2 separate regions of the Homo sapiens genome follow, and region 1 is linked to region 2. Evidence: promoter capture Hi-C in 16 types of primary human blood cells and fetal thymus (Javierre and others, 2016). All regions are on one chromosome and are shown on one strand. Each heading gives the region's core, a stretch centred on a gene start or on the middle of the fragment in contact. The rest is flanking DNA. Distances are from core to core; before and after follow the strand shown. Region 1 overlaps LOC124902426 (a long non-coding RNA gene). Region 2 holds the start of PRKG1-AS1 (PRKG1 antisense RNA 1).

Region 1 (6,333 bases), core at 3,687-6,186, 240 kb before region 2:
AAAGATCTTGAGTTCAAACTTAGACATATTACATGTCAGTGTTTATAAGACAACCAAAGAGGAACAAGTAGGTGCTTCAATGTGCAGCTGAGCAAGAGGTAAGCATGAAAATAGTATGTGAAGCCTTGGCTGTGCATGATACTCATTATAAGTGTTTAAAGTTAAAAAAGAAGACTTAGGAGAGAGGCCAAGTCTCCTACACCAAAAGCCAAGTGAAAAGACTTCTACAAACATAAAATCCTTTGTATATTCCACACAGGATTTTATAACCACTTGAACCAATACTTAAAAGTAAAGGGCTTTCATATAAAAAATATGAAACTTCTGCTTCTATTGAAAAAGCAAAGTTTAGGCATCAAAGGGTTCACATTCAAAGCAGACATGAGCTAGAATTGAGTGAGCCCATCTGCTTTGGACAAGCCATGTGTTCTCTCACCTAGACTGGATCCCTCATCTACATTACCTGTCTTGCATCTGTATATTTCAGCTTGACCAAAGGTAATTATGGCTATTTCATGTTATTTTTGAAGAGGACATAGACTTTAATGACAGTGGAATAGGAAAAATAACAGACAAACAAAAACCACCTTAATGGGATATTGATGGATTGTCCCAAGACTAGAAGCAGAGATGGGGTTTTATTTCTGATAGGGGTGAGAATTTTAGAAGGTGGGGTTTCCACCCATTTACATACAAGGACCCTCATGGCGGAATGACTTCAGAGTGATTTTCCACAGCTTGTGTGAACTCTGAAAAAGATGCCTGATATTGGTCCAGAGGAAATAAAGCATTCAGACTTATAAACAGAAAATACAGACCAGGCCAAGTAACACTAAGGATATAAATCTTTAAGGTGCCTGTTTGTGCCAAGGGAGAAGAGAGTTCCACCCATGAGTTAGGAATTGCATTGGGCCCACTCATATCACATATTCCCCAAAGAGAGATTTAAACAAATTTATGGTTCAAGGGTTTTGAGGGGAAAAAACAAGACAAAACAAAAGACTATCACTTGCGAAACCTTCAGAGGGCGAAAGAACATCAAAAGAAAATTAGGTTATGGGAGAACATCAGCATGAAGCAAACGTTCAGGGAAGAGTATAAGTACTTAGAACATTTTGCTGATGAAGAACTATGGATTTGAAATAAGCACAATGGAAATATTTCAGGAGATGGGAACAGGTGAAACGGGGCAAGAAATGGGTTCACATAGAACCTTCTAGGAATCAAAATGAGAAAGCTATGGAATGATCTGGGAGTTTATTAATGCTTGTGGCACTATAGATGGGAATAAAAGGCGTAATGAGATTTGTCATAGCAAACTCAAGACCATGATTGTTGGAGAGGAATGGTGATGGGAAACTGGGTTGTCCTCTTATCCATATAATGGAGTTGAGGATGCCTGGGGAGCAAATCATTTCTCTGAATGGGATCCTGTCAGACAATAGTGAATGTAAGAAGCACAGTTTAATTTCAATGCCTTGAGCTTGCTCATTGATCTGTTAGGAGCGGGACAGTCTTACCAAGCAAGCAAGAGGGCAGAGGTGATTAGGACTATTGAAATATAAAAATTCAATAAACAAAACAAAAAAAGGTATTTATTAATATGATTTAGAATTTTTTTCCTTAAATTTTGAATCTTTACATGGTTAGATAATACCATATATCAGAATATTTTATGAAGATCAATTAACATCAAGACATTTCCTGGTTTTTTAAACCAAGATTATAAACAAATTTTTCAGGCATTGAGGCAGCAAAAAGACACATTCCTACAACAGAGAAAAATTTAGACTGACCTCAGCCTTCTCGAAAGCAAATTTAATGGCAGAATAAAATTAAGCTATTGCCACAGAATTCCTGAAGTAAAAAATTGGTGACTCAAAGATTATATCCAGGTAGATTGTCGTTAATTATAAAGGCAACAGGCAGGTATTCTTAAGCTTTGAAAAACTTAGGAAATGCAGCATCCATGATTTTTTCTTTGAAAATGCTATTCAACAGTAAATTTCAACAACTTAAGAAATAATGTAAATAATGGAACTTAATTAAATGAAAAAGCTTCTGCACAGCAAAAGAAATAATCAACAGAGTAACAGACAACTGACAGAATGGCAGAAAATATTTGCAAACTATGCTTCTGACAAAGAACTAATATCCAGAATCTCCAAGGAATTCATACAACTCAACAAGAAGAAAACAAACAACTCCATTAAAAAGTGGGCAAAAGGCATGAACAGGCATTTCTCAAAAGAAGACATACATGCAGCCAACAATCATATGAAAATGTACTCAACACCACTAATCATCAGAGAAATGCAAATCAAAACCACAATGAGATACCATCTCACAGCAGTCAGAATGGCTACTATTAAAAGTAAAAAAAAAAAAAAAATTGTTGGAGACGATGCAGGGAAAAGAGAATATTTATATGCTCCTGGTGGGAATGCAAATAAATACAACCTCTATGAAAAAACAGTAAGGAGATTTCTTAAAGAGCTAAAAAAAAAAAACTACAATTCAATCCAACAATCCTACTACTAAGTATCTACTCAAAGGAAAAGAAATTGTCATATCAAACAGATACCTGCACTCATATTTATTGCATAACTATTCACAATAGTAAAGTTATAGAATCAACCTAAGTGTCCATTAATGGATGATTGGATAAAGGAAATGTTATATATATATATATATATTACATAGCCATAAAAAGGTGAAATCATGTCTTTTACCACAACATGGATAGAGCTTGAGGCCATTATCGTAGGTGAAATAACTCAGAAACAAAAAAATCAAATACCACATATTCTCATTAATAAGTGGGAACTAAACAATGGGTACCCACAGACATAGAGGGATAATAGACATTGGACACTCCATAAGGGAGGAGGGTAGGAGACTCCATAAGGGAGGAGGGCGGGAGACTGGTGATGGTTGAAAAATTCCTATTGGTACAATGTTCACAATTCAGGTGAGGGGTACACTATCAGCCCAGACTTTACCACTATGCAATATATCAATGTACAAAAATTGCACTGTACCCCCTAAATCTATACAAATAACAAAAATTTTAAAAAGAAAAAAAGTTTAAAATGCCATAAGAAAGAAATAATCTAAATAAAAACTTCAGGAATGGAGGAGCTGACTTTGAAACCTGCTTAAACAGACTATAAAGACTATTTTTTTTATATTTAGTTTTTGGAACTGCTTTGAGAGAATAGATATATACTATTTTAATTTTTTTATATAAAATCCTTCTTACCAAGAGAAAAAAGAACAAGACTTGATCAGGCTGAAATATTTGATGAAGAACATTTTAAAATAAGTATAAATTTAAGAAACATCATGGAAAAAAACTTGCAAGTGTACTCTTTTTTTTCTTTAAAAGAACACAAAATCAGCAACAGTGAAATTCTGGGAAGACCCTGGAACCAGATAAAACAATCTTATTAAACATTGAATCATGGTTAAAAAGCAGTTACCCAGCAACCAAAGACCTCATCATTTCCTCCTAATCTTTCACAGTGAATTTTTTAACAACCTCATAAAACTAGGACAGACTGAAACATCATGGAAAGAGGTGGGAAATAAAGAAGGCTCCAGGAAGGGAAAACTGAGTATTATTTCACTGAAAATTTCATCCAGATCCTTGCACAAGGTCAATCAATTCAGGCTACAAACACATGACATATTCTTATACTTCAATCATCTTAATAGCAGGCAATAGGAGACAAACAAATGACACACAAGCTTTAAAGTCTACAATTAACAACAGAGGATCACGAAATGCTGGGACAGGATTTCTGAGACTCCATTCTCTTCATTTAACAGATGAGCAAACCGATCCAGGAAGGAGAAGTGGCAGGCCTACAGCCCGCTATCTATGAAGTAGGCACCTGGGTCTCACTCCTGGGTCACTGTTCTTTCTAGCAACCATTCTGTCTCATATGGGATACCGGTGTTTTCAAATAGCAACAAATGTCATTAAGTAGTTACTAACTATTCAAATTTGGCTATTGATATCAGTAACTCTGCTTTTCCTAAGAGATACAAAAATTTAATAACATTCCAGCGAAAGGCAGCTTCCGCTTTAAAGTAGTTCTAGACTATGTTTATTACTGAAGCTTTATAAGTCACTTTTTATTGATGACCACAAACATGTTGTCCACTGCTTTCAGGTCAATTTGACAATAATTCCTCAGTGTAAATACCCTGGCAATCAAAATTGGAAGCACATGTGACTTGTCTTCAGTGTGAATACCTGTATAGGAAATCAAACATAGTTAAGTAAGGGGATGTAGAGCTCCACCAATTTCTAGGATTGCCATGCCCATCAAAATATTGTCCCACCAACAAAATCACTGTGTGTATAAAATACCACCAAGTAACTATCTTGGTTAGTTTGGGCTGCCATAATGAAATGCCATAGACTAGGTGAGTTAAACAACAAATATTTATTTCTCACAGCTCTGAAGTCTAGAAGTCTGAGATCAGGGTACCATCATGGTCAGTTTCTTGGTGAGGGGCATCTTCCTGGTTATGCCCTTACATGGCCTTCCTTGGTGCATGCACTAAGAGAGAGATCTCAAGTCTCTTCTTTTGTTCATAGAGGTATTAATCCCATTGTGGAGACCCCATCCTCATGAACTCATCTAAACCTAATTACTTCCCAAAGGCCCCACCTCCTAAAACCATCAGACTTCCCAAAGGCCCCACCTCCTAATACCATCAGATTGAGGATTAATACCATGTGGATTTGGGGGAAGGGGGACACAAATATTTAGTCCATAGAAGTAACCTACTTATCTTATAATTTATTTTAAAAATCCTTAGGATTAAATTGACATGAATAATTTTTATGAACACTAGAATAATCTCTCCATTTTCAATTAATTAAACTTGCTAGGAGATCCTCCTGAGTAAAAAGTGGTTTGGTATATAGAAAAGAAGAAAAAAATGTTCTAAGCATGGGATATGATTTAAGAGAAATCTTGAAGTTGGAAGAGGGCAGGACAAAATATCATTACTCTATACCTGGGATTGTGCTAAATGCTTTTTATGGATTATTTAATTGTAATTAAAACCCCTATAAAATAGATTCTTTTATTACCACTATTTTACAGTGAGGAAATTTAAGATTGGAAAATTTGAATCACACGCCTAAGGTAAATCTAACAATTAGCAGAGCAAGGACTTATAGCCAAACCTTTGGATTCCAGAATAAGGCTTTTAAACACCACACTCTACAGCGTCTCTCAGATTACCATGATGAAAAAAATTTCATCTTGAGACTTTGTAATAAGGTTTTTGAAAAGATTAGCTTCATATATGTTTTAACTCAGTATTCAACATGCTGGGTTTACATTTCAAAAAATTTTAATGAACAATAAATACATTTATAAAGTTAATAATTCAATTCATCATGATTTCCTGAAGACTTTTTTTTTTTATTTCCTGAAGACTTTTAAAGATGCTATTGAATCTTTAACAATTAAGTGAGTACCAAGGGAAGAGAACATATGTTTCTTTTAGCTCTCATTTATTAATATGGCCCATTTAGGACCTGACATAGTATAAAGTTCAGCTTACATATACCTATCAGTTAATAAAAATCTGCAATGGGAAAACTATTTAACTATTTAACTAAATCAAGAGCATAGAATTATCTTAGACAGATAACAGAATTTAATGTAAATCCCGAATTTCTGTGTGTTATCTTGAATTTCATTTTGAATTGAAGAAAGCTTAAATGTGAAAAAATAAGAATGCCGTTTTTTAAATCTTTTATGAAAATATTCAATCTGCAAATACAATTTTGCCATATTCTACCTATGTACATAAATAACAATCAGGAGCACTGAAAAACAAAAAAGTATACACCAATCATTTTGAGAAGTACAGAGCAAAAGAGAAATCAGCTACCAAGTCATGAAAAGACATGGAGGAACCTTAAATGCTTATTACTGAGTGAAATAAACCAGTCTGAAAAGGCTACGATTACTGTATGGTTTTAAATATATGACATTATGGATAAAGCAAAACTATGGATCCAGTAAAAAGATCAGTGGTTGCCAGTGGATGGGAGAGAGATGGATGAATAGACAGGAATAAGGATTTTTAGGATAATAAAACTATTTATATAATATTATAATGATGTACACATGATATATGTATCCAAACTCATGGAATGAACCCGCGAGTGAACCCCAGTGTAAACTATGGACTTTGGAAGATAATGATATGCTAATGTAAGTTTATGAATTGTAAAAAATACAACATCTGGTGAGAGATGTTAATGGGAGAAACTATGTATGTGTGGAGGCAGGGAGTATA
Region 2 (5,899 bases), core at 878-3,377:
TGCATTACTGCTAACAGCTGTGACAGTGGCAGTCTGTTATGCCAGCATCAACTTGAGATACTTCATTGCAGTGACATCATTTTAAACACAAGCCAAACTTCCTCTTTACTGTTAATGCAAAACTCTCCAGATGGACAGAAGCACCAATGTGTATACTGTATACAGTCAGTCATAGGTAATATCCCCAGTATAGCCATTTAAAATACTTTCCCACCAACTGTGGTAGGGGCAAGTGAGATTTCTGCCCATTTTAATATTACCTTTGGGGTAAGAAAAAGAAACTCAGTCACTTTAAAAATGTTCTTAAAAATAACTTCTCTGCCCCTGGTGCTATATGGGTCCTACCAGACTAAGTTAAGCAAATGCAATTCCAGCTGCCTGGAACATTGCAATCTCACCGGCCAGTTACTTTACTGTGTAATTTCTATATTACAGAGATTTACTTAGTTCATCCTGGAGTACTGCTGGGTCCTAAGGAGGGTCGTCGCCCTGTTAGCTTATTTCTGGAGACCTCTTTAGCTGTCTAAATCCACCTTTTGAAAAATTAAAAGTTAGTGGATCTGTGGTTGGGGGGAGGAGTACTTATATTAAGGCAGCAGAGGGTAGAGGGAGGGGGAAGGATGGAGAAGTCAAGTTGTGAGGGTACCAAGATCTCTCTTAAAAATGGCCAATGCAGATAAATCAGTCCTCTGGCTGACAACAGTTTCAGCAAAAATCAGAAGGCGAGGCCAGTCTGGCAAAACTGTGAGAATCACAATAAGAAAAATGAAAAGGACAGCTGAACGCCAAAGCTGGTTTCTTTGATATCTGTATGATCCCATCGTCCTCCTCATCATCCCCCTTCTCAATTGACCTCAAGGTTCTCCCCAGACAAATTTTTATGGAAGAGTCCACTACGAGGTGAACCGTTGTATTGAATCATTGAGGGACACGGAGGAAGATAAGGACCTCAGAGACCTCCCAACTTCTCTCTTCTTCCCGATTAAACACTTGCAATGAAGATACTTCAGCGGAATCCTGCATGCTGAACACCCATTTGCAGGTGGCGCCGCAGTGTTCTCAGGGCGGAGATTTCTCCCCCCACCCCCCCCAACCCCCCGCCCCCGCCCAATTCATAGACGCTCAAAGGCTGGACAGTTTTAGTGTGAAAGGGAGCTTTCAGGACTCACCATTTTTGCAGTAATTCCCGGGGCAGCACATAGCGTGACGCATGCAGCGTTTTCGGCGCTTCCTGCAGGCGAGACAGATTTGCACGCCTGCGTCCCCTCCGCGGGTGGGACTAGCGCAGTACTCATCAGTGCCGCACTCCTCGTCCTCTGCGCACGGGTACGGCTGTGGGAAGGGTTCGGGGAGAGGGTGAGGCACCCAGACGTCCAGGTACCCGCCCTCTTGGACCCGGGCGCTGATCACAGTCCTTATCTGTCCACCTCTCCAAAACCTGTTACTGCCCACTGCTCCCAAATGCAGGGTTACCAAATGCTCCCTGAACCGCACACATTCAGCACGTTCTACTCCCTCGTCTCCAGATAGGACCCTTTCAAGGTCAGAGCATCCTCTGAGTGCCCGACCCCTCTCACCTGGTAGTTGTCAATGGTCTGGTACTTATTCCCGCCCGGGTACAGGATTCCCGGCGCGGCGCTGACTGCAGAGCCTGGGTGCCCCGCAGCGCCGCCCAGCGGTGGGGGCAGGTTCTTGATAGCGTTGGAATTGAGAACCGAGTTCAAGGTGGCGCTCACTCCCAGCAGAGGGTGGCCGCCGAGAGCCGCCGCTACCATCGCGACAAAGACCCGGGTAGCTCCCGCTGCGCCCAGAGCCATCATCTCAGAAGGACTCAAGAGGGAGAAAGAAAGAGAAAATGACCGTCACTTTGCAAGCCTGGGTCCCCACGAAACCGTGCCGGTTCGGCTGCAGAGTCAGGGTCCGGGAGCCCCCTGCGGTCCCAGAGTCCTGACTGCAGGGAGCACAGAGCTCTGCGCCGCCACCGCCACCGCGGCTGCCTTTATACCGCGGGCCCGGAGCATTCCGGCCCCTTGGGAGGGAGACAACAAAGCCGGGATGGGATTTCAAAGCGCTGGGAGGGGCTGGGAGGGGGTGTGTTTGTGTACATGAAGGGGGGCCTTTGACACTCTTCACCCCGCCCCTCCCTTGCTTAGTCGCTCGGCTGGCCCGGCTCACCTTCGGGGTGAAGGCTACCAGCGAGCGTTATAGCAGACGACTTTAATAAATGCAGGCGGCAGCAGGAACTCTGGGAACTTGGGTGCCCTTGCCTGGCAGTAAGGGTTGAATTATCCGGATCTGAAATACTTTACAGAGCCGAGGGGTGATAGGCTCTGCAAAAGCACTTTTTGCCCCTCTCCTTTATGCCAATACTCGCTGACTGTGCACACAAGTCATATTCAGTATTAAATACAAACCGGTCTGTAATTCAATGGCTCTAGCAAGACGCCTCTGAGAGGGCCAGGTGGCGGGTGCAAGTTGCTCATTAACCCTTTAGAGTCGCAGTTTGCAGATCTGAGTTAGATCCCCGGCTTTGAGGTCCTTCAGTTGCCCTCCTCCCCCACCTCCCCCCGCCACTGCGAGAAAAATGTGCAAAGAGAAGGAAATTTGCACATCAAACGAGGGTAAGAAGGAAGAAGAGCTAATTCTCTTTTGATGGGAAGTTTAGAGAGGGAGGCGAGAGACTGGCGTTTAGAAATTAGATCAGGGGTGGAGGGAAGAGGGAAATGACCATCCGATAATCAAACCATTTAATGTTGTTCTTTGAATCAGGGCAATCGCGGCGGTAGATGAACTTGATTAGGCAGACGCGTGAGATCAAAGTGGCCGGGACCAAAGCGGACAGGGTCCAACGTGCCAGGTCAGTCGCCTTTCCCCGGTTCTCCCTTCTCAGTGGTGGGCTAATGTGGAGAAATAAGAAACCCTTAGGGCTTAGCGCCTGACTTCCTCATTAGTATATCACATCGCAACGCTTCCGAATGCAGGGTTTGCTCCCAAGTCTTACCTTGCACGGGACCACGCAATACCCTTTCTAGGGAGAAAAGAAACAACCTTGAGGAGAAGAAGAGCTGAAAGTGAATTAGAAAGTGAATTTGACGTCATTGAAATTGGTGTGTGGATATAATAAAGTAAGGCTGGTGTATAAGAATGATGTCATGCTTATAAATGGGAAATGATCTATTTAATTCAACAAAAACTTATTGGAAGCCTAGAGCCCTGGCATTGGGCTGCCCTCTGGGTTGTTACCTTATTTTTATTTTTTAAATTTTTTGGTGAGATGGGTGGTGGGGGGAGGGGCACAGTGAATACAAATATTTATGAGACACAGCTCTCATTTTAAATAATAAAGTTCTCTTTATTCTAATTACAGTAATAATAAAAGATGTAGTAACAATAAAATTATAGCAATAAATATAAAAGCATACATAATTCTTTTAAAAACAGGTTGATATTATAAGTGTCAGAAAATAAGCAACTGTTTTGTGAGTTTGGAAAAGGGAGAGATGATTGAATAATCACTATTGAATTAAAAAAGAGTAAGATATATTTATTTTGTCTTCCTCTAAGCTGTATAGATTTAGGCTGTCTATAATGACTCCACATGCTGACCTACTATAGTCAGAACTGGGGCCACCACCAAGTAAAGCCAGTGACAATCTTAAAGTAAAAAAATCCTAAAGTTTACTGGGAGAAGGAGTAATTAAAACACAATTTACTATGGTCTGTGTTCTAGTTCCTTCAGTTTCAAAGGTAATATTAAGAAGATCATCTAAACAATTCTTGAATGGTACCCTAGTTATATTAGTGTCCTTCCCATCCCAAATTCCATCTGTCCAGGAAATTATCCTGTCAGGAATCAATGCGTTAAGCACCTTCAGTGTACTAGGAAATCTGCAAGCTGTGTTAAGTTTGAATGACTTTGAAACGTAGAGAAAAATCCGCCTGCCAATCAGAAGGTTGAAAATGTTTCTTTTTAGTCCTATTAACCTGTTTAAATATTTTGAATCTAGAAATATATTTGTGCCACACTAAAGGCCAATCTCTTGCCTTTTTTTCTGAAGAGATAGTATATGATTAATACATTTAATGAACTTGGTTCATTAAAAGCTTGGCTTCACAAAAAAAATCCATTGCCTGGGGCAAAAGAAGAGAAAGTGGAACAATTTAATCAACAAAAGGAAAATTCTGTTATAACAAAGAAGCTTGTTGCATAAATTCAACCTTGATCTCTGAACACATATCATTTGTCTATTATGTTTCAATATTCACTGAGTCTGGACAGAATCTGTGGTATTGAGCTAGGAGAGCTAAACCAAGCATAGAGTTTCAAGAATGGGCTAGCTTCTACCTCCTTCCTCAGCTTTCACATTGCTCCTGAAGTTGTCATGAGTTTAAAACTAATAATGAGTTGGTCAATATCTGAGTTCCTACTTTGTGCTAAGCATTATACATGATATTGTGTGATAAAAGATGAGTTCACATATAATCTACCTTCAAATCATTTAGTGGGCAGAGGAGAGGTAACCTCACAAATTATTCAGGGGAGAAATTACATGGGTGGTCCTCAGAGAGGGCTAAGTACATAGCAAATCAAACCTTTGTTCCAAATGAGGAAATTTATTTTTTCAGTACTTTTTCTCCATTTGAAAATCCTTTCCAGGATGTGGTTTGTTCATTGGCAACAAGAGTGCAAGGTAGATAAAGAGGTATAGTAAAACTCATTGTTCCATCAGCAGCCAGTTAATATTCGGTGAGTATCCATTATTGGGAGCATATCTCACAATATGAAAGGCAGGCTTCTTGTCCTCAGCTTTCAGTCTGTGACTAGTTGGGGAAATACAACATACTTACATGGGGCTGGGGGTAAAAATTTTTCCAACATCGATTATATTTTGGCAGATACTAGGTCATGGAGAGCAAGAAAAATGTGCAGGAACTGTGACCAACATGTCTTAGGAAGGAGAGAGGGTTCTGGTGATTGTCTGAGTCTCTCTTACAGCTGGGTGACAGAGGAGGTGGGAGCCAGAGTAGATGAATTTAGTTTATTAAACTGAGTTTATTTAGTCCTGTAGGGAACCCTGCCTCCTATTCAGTCTGGTATAAATATGATCATAATTAATGTAACAAATTTAATATTTTGTATTATATTTTTGAATAGGTGAAATATGCTTATCAGCGTGGAATTGAACCTCATAACTCGGGAACAGCATGCTAACACATGTCTTCTTTATATTTTAAGTGCTGGATGCCATGCATAGAATATTTCTCAACCTTTTCATCCATGAGGGAGACAGACAAATATACTCCAAAACACTCCATGCTATTCACCAACTATTTTTCCATCTCTATTATTTGTGACTGCTGATTTTTTTTATTTTATATATTTTTATATATTTTTTGAGACAGGATCTCATTCTGTCGCTCAGGCTGGAGCACAGTGGTGCAATCGTGGTTAACTGCAGCCTTGACCTCCCAGGCTCAAGCGGTTCTTCCACCTCACCCCCAAGTAGCTGGGACTACAGCTGCATGCCACCACACCTGGCTAATTTTTAATTTTTTTGTAGAAACAGGGTCTCACTATGTTGCTAGCCAGAGCTGGTCTTAAACTCTTAGGCTCAAGTGATCCTCCCACCTTGGCCTCCCAAAGTGCTGGGATTACAGGAGTGAGACACCGCGCCCAGTCTACTGCTGTATTTTAAATTCCCTTCTTTCCTCTTTTCTTTTTTCTCTCCCTCCTTCCCTTCTTTCCTTCTTTCTCTTCATTAAATCAAAAGAAGCAGATTTGTTGCCATATAATTTTACTTTGCTAGGAAAATACCGCATACATATCATTCCTTACGGTGGGTGTTGCCAACATTTTTGTTAGTGTCAATCTTGAGTATAGCAGGGATTCCTCATTCCT

Evidence for each region. Contacts are between HindIII fragments. The CHiCAGO score rates a contact against its expected background, and 5 or more counts as called.
Region 1: a contact is called between a fragment that was not itself captured here and the fragment with the promoter of PRKG1-AS1 in region 2, in 2 of 17 cell types (endothelial precursors and M2 macrophages). The highest score is 6.3, in endothelial precursors.

What each region holds. Positions count from the first base shown.
Region 1 is chr10:52,548,423-52,554,755 of GRCh38, reverse strand. All of the region lies in intron 1 of LOC124902426 (a long non-coding RNA gene), which reads right to left. Among named protein-coding and RNA genes, the nearest start is that of LNCAROD, 81 kb to the right of the region's middle. The HindIII fragment of the contact is 1,620 bases long and covers 4,127-5,746 here.
Region 2 is chr10:52,310,356-52,316,254 of GRCh38, reverse strand. PRKG1-AS1 (PRKG1 antisense RNA 1) reads left to right here and starts at 2,127. Exons shown (of 6, transcript NR_038277.1): 1 at 2,127-2,621; 2 at 2,770-2,857. It overlaps DKK1 (dickkopf Wnt signaling pathway inhibitor 1), which reads right to left and starts at 1,974. Exons shown (of 4, transcript NM_012242.4): 1 at 1,578-1,974; 2 at 1,170-1,332. The coding sequence starts at 1,820. The HindIII fragment of the contact is 4,208 bases long and covers 1-4,106 here.